Regions from separate parts of the Homo sapiens genome. Here region 1 is linked to region 2. The links are contacts of gene promoters, found by promoter capture Hi-C in human tissues and cell types (Jung and others, 2019). All regions are on one chromosome and are shown on one strand. Each heading gives the region's core, a stretch centred on a gene start or on the middle of the fragment in contact. The rest is flanking DNA. Distances are from core to core; before and after follow the strand shown.

Region 1 (3,176 bases), core at 106-2,605, 180 kb before region 2:
GCGTGCCTTGTTCTTCTTGGTCGTGGGACAAGAGGCTGTACCTCATTGAACAGGGGAAAAGGGGACTGCAACAAAAGGAAACATAAATTCATGTTAGAGAGAGTTTGTTAATATGGGAGTACTTTTCTGCGATATGATATTTAATGCCATGATTAGAATTTTGGTAGATACAACTAACATGCTGTTAGGGTGAACTTGGAATATTCTGAGTTCTTGGAACAAGTGAAATTTTCCACTAAATAAAGTAGAAATGCAAGAAACTCTGTGCCATATTGAGGAGGAGGGAATCAAGAGGCTTAGAGGACCGGACATTTTGAAGTAGATAGAATACATAAAGCTGGAAAACCCACCAACAAGGTATGTTCTGTAGAGGGCCTGGAAAATATGCTATTATAGACCTAAGCTCCATGATACCACTGGGGATGAGAGAACCTGAGACAATAGAGTGCAGATGGAGAGCAAAATGTGTATAATGACTGTAATAAGTGGCAAAGGTTGGAATTTGAACTAGGGGTCCTGACTTACAGAGAATTTGGAAATGCTTAAGAGAGAATAATGTCCCAGGGGCAAGATAAATGGGCAGTCAATAAAATCAGTTTTTTGACAAGCATATTGCTTAATTTGTATTACCAAAATAAATTAGGAAACTGAAGGCAGCTAAAGTCTCAGGCTTGGAAATGCTAGGCCTATACCCCTTGCTGGGTATGTCAACTGAAATCTCAGTTCCCAACAAAAGAGAGGAGAGAGGGAAAAGGAAGGATAAGAGGATAAGGAAAAGTGAGAAGGGTGAAGGAGGAAATGACAGTCAAATGTCTTCACCATGGGCCAGGTGCGATGGCTCACGCCTGTAATCCCAGCACTTTGGGAGGCCGAGGTGGGTGGATTACAAGGTCAGGAGATGGAGACCATCCTGGCTAACTAGGTGAAACCCCCACTCTACTAAAAATACAAAAAATTAGCTGGGCGTGGTGGCACGTGCCTATAGTCCCAGCTACTTGGGAGGCTGAGGCAGGAGAACTGCTTGAACCCAGGAAGTGGAGGTTGCAGTGAGCCGAGATTGCACCACTGCACCCCAGCCTAGGTGACAGTGAGACTCTGTCTCAAAAAAAAAAAAAAAAAACACAAAAATTCTCCACTATGAACATACTCCTCCCTCTCCCCAAACATGCACCGCAATGGAAAGTCTCATTCAGCTTCCTTTTTATTTGTTGTGTGGTCCACTATACTTTGTCTCCTGATCCAGACATTTTATTTTATTGTATTTATTTATTTATTTAGATGGAGTCTCACTCTGTCGCCCAGGCTGGTGTGCAGTGGTGCGATCTCGGCTCACTGCAACCTCCGCCTCCTGGGTTCAAGTCATTCTCCTACCTCAGCTTCCCAAGTAGCTGGAACTACAGACATGCAACACCAGGCCCAGCTAATTCTTTTGCAACACCAGGCCCAGCTAATTTATTTGTATTTTTAGTAGAGATGGGGTTTCATCATACTGGCCAGGCTGGCTAATCCAGATATGTTAAAATGCAGGAAGTAAAAGAGGGACATAAAGAATTGAATAGATCTGGTATTCTTTTCTTTTAGTCTGAGGATAGAGAGGAAATAGTTGTGTATTTTCTTCCCCTATCATTCAATGCAAACAGAGACAGATATAGATATAAAAATAAATTTATTCCAAAAAGTAATTTTGGAGTTTAAGTGTTCCTCAAAATGCATGTTCTCATCTGAGAATTTCATTCTGAAAACAGACTTAATAAAGCTGAAATACTGTGCATTTGTGTTAAGTAAAAAAAAAATTGTTTTTATAATACCCATATGTAGTAGTGTTAAAATATGCCTAAAAATTCTTTGATATTTCTCCTTTCAAAAGACGGAGCTTAGAGGAGGAACTGAGTGAGCACAGATGAGCAGTGTATAGAGACTCACATTGTGAACTTTTGCTCCAAGAACTACTGCAGGAACATACCAGGAAAGCCGAGAGAATCCACAGACCTTTAAAGGAAGTGGCTTGCCACTGCAGGCTCCATGAGACAGCAAAAAAACTGAGTGCTAAAAGTGTGAGGGGGGAAATTTCACCTTTGAACACACATCCTCACTGGGGAACCTGAAGGTCCAGATCTCTGGAAAAGGATTTGACCTTAGCTGGAGCTAAGATAAATTTAGAGAGGCGAGCAAAATATAGTGGTAGAAGAAGCATCAGGAAGAGTCCTGTGGGCACTTTCAGTCCCCATGGAAGCCATTCCTGACTTTGTCTCATAGGGGTCCTTGAGTGGGGATGGGGGCGGGCTGCCAGTGGAACTGGGGAAAGACCACAGGGAGAAGGAAATTTCCAGCTGACGTTTGTAACAATTTTGACCCAGCATGACGTTTCCTGGACAGAATCCGCGGAGGGGGCAAATGAGGAGTGCAGATACCAGCACAGAAGCCATGGCAGGTGGGGAGGGGTGAAACCGGAAAGCCCAGCTTGCTTTCTCAGCAGGGAGGCTTGTAGCCTGGGGCAAGTTCTCAGCCCTGCCCACCAGCTGCCTGGAAATAAATTCGGTGCTGTTGGGGGAGCACAGTGGGAGTGAGACTGGTCTTTTGGGCTGCGTGGGAGCTGGGTGAGGCTTGTCATTGCCAGCTTTCTCGCACTTCCCTGGAAACCTGTGGGACACAGCAGAGACAGCCATAATCCCTCTGGGAACATAACTCCATTGACCTGATACCTACACCCCCATCCCTACAGAGGCCCCAGCAAGCTTTGCCCCAGAAGAGTGAGTTCAGACACGCCTAACCATCCCTCACCTGATGGTCTTTCTCTACCCGCTCTGGTAGCCGAAGACAAAGAATATAATCTCTTGGGACCCCACCCACCACCTGACCCTAGAGCATGCTTGCATCCTCCCTATTCTACTGCAGCTGATGCACTCTTTTATTTATTTATTTATTTATTTATTTATTTATTTATTTATTCATTTATTTATTTTTGAGATGGAGTCTAGCTCTGTCGCCCAGGCTGCAGTGCAGTGGCACAATCTTGGCTCACTGCAAGCTCCGCCTCCAGGGTTCACGCCATTCTCCTGCCTCAGCCTCCTGAGTAGCTGAGACTACAGGTGCCTGCCACCATGCCTGGCTAATTTTTTGTATTTTTAGTAGAGACGGGGTTTCACCATGTTAGCCAGGATTGTCTCCATCTCCTG
Region 2 (3,184 bases), core at 502-3,001:
CAGGGAAAACAACTGCAGATTGAGACTTGAGGGAGAAGGGTGGGAGATGGTCCTTAGCAGATCCCTGGGCCTGGGGATCACCTGCTCCCTGGGATCAAAATAGTGAAACAAGCTATTCATAAGTACATCAAGGACGAGTAGGCCATTGTTTTCAGAACCAGCTGTGGAGAATCTGCTCGACAGTGGCCTTGGAACAGCTGCGGCTGCTGCACCAAGAAGGGAGGGCAGGAGGGCGGAGCGGTACTGGTGGAAGGGTGAGCTAGGAGGAAAGGCTGCAAGGACCCTGCCACGCCACCTCCCGGCAAACCAGGAAGTATTTTTGCAGTAAGTGCATTGGACTGAGCCACCTTTTGAACCTACCCGAAGTGTTAACAGCGCACAGCAGGCCTTAGATGGGTGCAATAACTGCAAACTCTCAACGGGCTGGTGCCTAAGAGGCTACGGGCTGGCAGCTAAATAGAGCCCGGCGCAGTGAGTCGCGTTGTCCGAAAGTACACAGAGTGGAGCCAGCCGACTGTGCTGTCTTTGCAAACCGTGACCGAGCAAAGTCCGCGGTAAACAAGCCTCGCAGCAGCTGCCTCCGGATGAGCGCCCCCTGCTCATTCCTCCACCCAGCATTTCCCACGCGCCCAGCGCTCCGCTCTGCAGCCCCTGCCGTCCTCTCTCCCAGCCCCATTCTCAGATCGCCCCATCTTTTGGCCCAGCCCAGGTCCCAGCCCCCGCGGCTGGCGCACCACACTCACCATCTCTTGCCTGAGGAGGTGAAGCTTGGTTTCTAGCCTCTCCAGGGCGCTAGAGTGGCTACCTCGTGGGGAGCCAGAGGTTGGGGAGGACGAAGAGGAGGACGACAAGGAGGGAGGGAAGCTGCAGTAGCTGCTGCTGCTACTGCAGCCGCCGCCGCCGCCGCCACCACCACCGCTCCCCCCGCAGGGGTCCCTGTCCCTTTCCCTGGGAACCGGCTCCTCCCCACGGAGAGAGCGCACTAGACTCTCGGGTACTTTGCGCCCCAGCTTCAGCTCGATGTCTCTGAGGTCTGGCAGCGGGCTGTCTTCCATGACTTTTCCGGAACGGCGATAATAGTAATAAAACGCAGCAGATGAAAGGCAGCCACGGCTTCGAAGGCTGCTGCGAAATCAGCAGACCTCTCCGGGGGCCAGGGTCTCTATCCTCCGCCGCTCCGGTGTACCGTCCTTTCCATAACCGCCTATGCGGTATCAGCCCTGAAATCCGCACAGGACGCGGGGGGTCGCAGCTGCAGTTCCCAGTCCGCTGCGACTCCTCCGACACTAAGATGATCAAGATCTCCTCATTCTCTCTCTTTTTGGCCACCTCACTGCAAAGTTGAGTTCACTGATATTGCAGACAGAGGGGGAATAAAGAGGGGGAAGTAGTGAAAGAAAAGAGAGGGAAATTAAATCTGTTTTAGCTTTACCAAGGGAAAATTTTCACATTATAAAACCGTCCGTTCACATCCCTGCGCCGCTCACTGACTGCCCATCTGGTACTACGCGACACAAAATAATGATGCAGCCAGAAACGATGTCCTGGGTCGTTTCATTTTCCAGCCATATGCCTCCAAGCTTTCGGGATATCCTGGGTTGTCAGAAATAATCTCTGGTCAGTGAAAGAGGAGTTCGGTCGTGTGCATGGACCCATAAAAAAGAGCTAGTTAGCTTAGCAGGAGTTTAACGGCTTCCTTGATGCAGCAAAAATGTCCTTCTTCCCATTTAGGCTGTTTGATCCAAGTCATTGTGTTCCTCTGAGCCTCGGAAACTTTAAACTCCGCTGGCAGGTGGACCAAACCAGGACCAACCCTTCTACCGTATATCACAGACAAGAAGAGCAACCGGAATTTTCCCAACCCTGTCGCTAGTAGCAGAGTTTCAAAGCCCTGCTTTAGTTAGGAATACCAGTTGATTTTTCAGTTTTCCTGACTAGCTACAACCTTTAAAACAGGTTTTAAAATGAGAGATAGAGGAATGACTTTATATTTGGTGTCTTCGTTTCCCATCTCTCTACCTTCCTCAAAGGAAAAACAAACAGAAAACCTCTCTTTAGAAGACTTTCCTAATAATTTTATTCTAATAAAAAGAGTGAAACAATTTCATCAAAAGTTCAATGGAAATGTACAATCAAAATTAATTATCCTACCAACTGTTACAGTATGCAAACAAAAGTGAAAAATTAAATAGCCAGAATAACTTACATGACTGCTGAGATAGCAGTGAAATTTTAAGAACAAGCAATTGCTGAGATACTTACTTTTATTTTAATTATGGAAGAAAAAATATTGGGAATAACTATTTAAAATGTTGTCTTCTTTGATAATTTATCTATAAATTAATTTATAGATTTTTTCAACTATACAAATTGTACAATTAATTGTATAGTTGAACAATTGTACAATTTATTAATTTGTACAATTGTACAATTCATTAATCTGAAATACTTCTACCAAGTAAGTTATTATGAGCTACATGGATTACAGATCTGAATCAGCATTGAGTTTGTGTCAAAAATGTTTAAGTAGAGGATACTAATTTCAATCCAGTAAACTACAATTTTTGATTTCCATTGAAATATTTCAAAGTATGTGCCCCTCTATTTCTGTGACATATAAGTATTTGTGTTCCTGGTCACTCCGAGGCTCCATTTCCAGAGACATCATTCAGGTTTTACACTTGTAGGAACATAGGTATATACATCTCAGAGTTTGTTTTTATCATATCTGACTCTAGGAAACCTTATACGTAGAGGAAACATACGCATTCTAAATGAAATATTTCATGTCAGGGAAAAAATGCTGAACTTTCTATCAACATGCCAGAAATTTGCATGCTATTTCTCCCTTTTAAAAAGAAATGAAGAAAATAGTTATAAGTTAGATGACCCATTTCAAAGTTAGAACTACCACTTACAGAATCAAGGGAAAACAAGACCAAATCCCAGCTAACTGATAAAACTACATGCTTGGTCCTAAATTTGGAAAAACACAAGCTCGTTGCATAAGAATTGCACTGTGGCATGTAATTATGAAAGGCTTGTGTTTCAGTCAAGAACAGTTTATTATTACAAAACCCTTACAAAGTTCAGCATAAGGCTGGCTAAGTGCAGTTTATAGATGAAATATCTAGCTAGAAATTGGTCAGTAAAAAACAAATGTCAAATTATCGTGTGTCAATAT

Evidence for each region. Contacts are between HindIII fragments. The study calls those that stand out against the background at their distance.
Region 1: a contact is called between a fragment that was not itself captured here and the fragment with the promoter of LURAP1L in region 2, in 2 of the 25 tissues and cell types used here (dorsolateral prefrontal cortex and mesenchymal stem cells).

Annotation. Positions count from the first base shown.
Region 1 is chr9:12,955,303-12,958,478 of GRCh38, reverse strand. No RefSeq gene overlaps it. Among named protein-coding and RNA genes, the nearest start is that of SNORD137, 16 kb to the left of the region's middle. The HindIII fragment of the contact is 8,924 bases long and covers 1-3,176 here.
Region 2 is chr9:12,773,587-12,776,770 of GRCh38, reverse strand. LURAP1L (leucine rich adaptor protein 1 like) reads right to left here and starts at 1,751. Exons shown (of 2, transcript NM_203403.2): 1 at 744-1,751. The coding sequence starts at 1,055. All of the region lies in intron 2 of LURAP1L-AS1 (LURAP1L antisense RNA 1), which reads left to right. The HindIII fragment of the contact is 5,707 bases long and covers 1,175-3,184 here.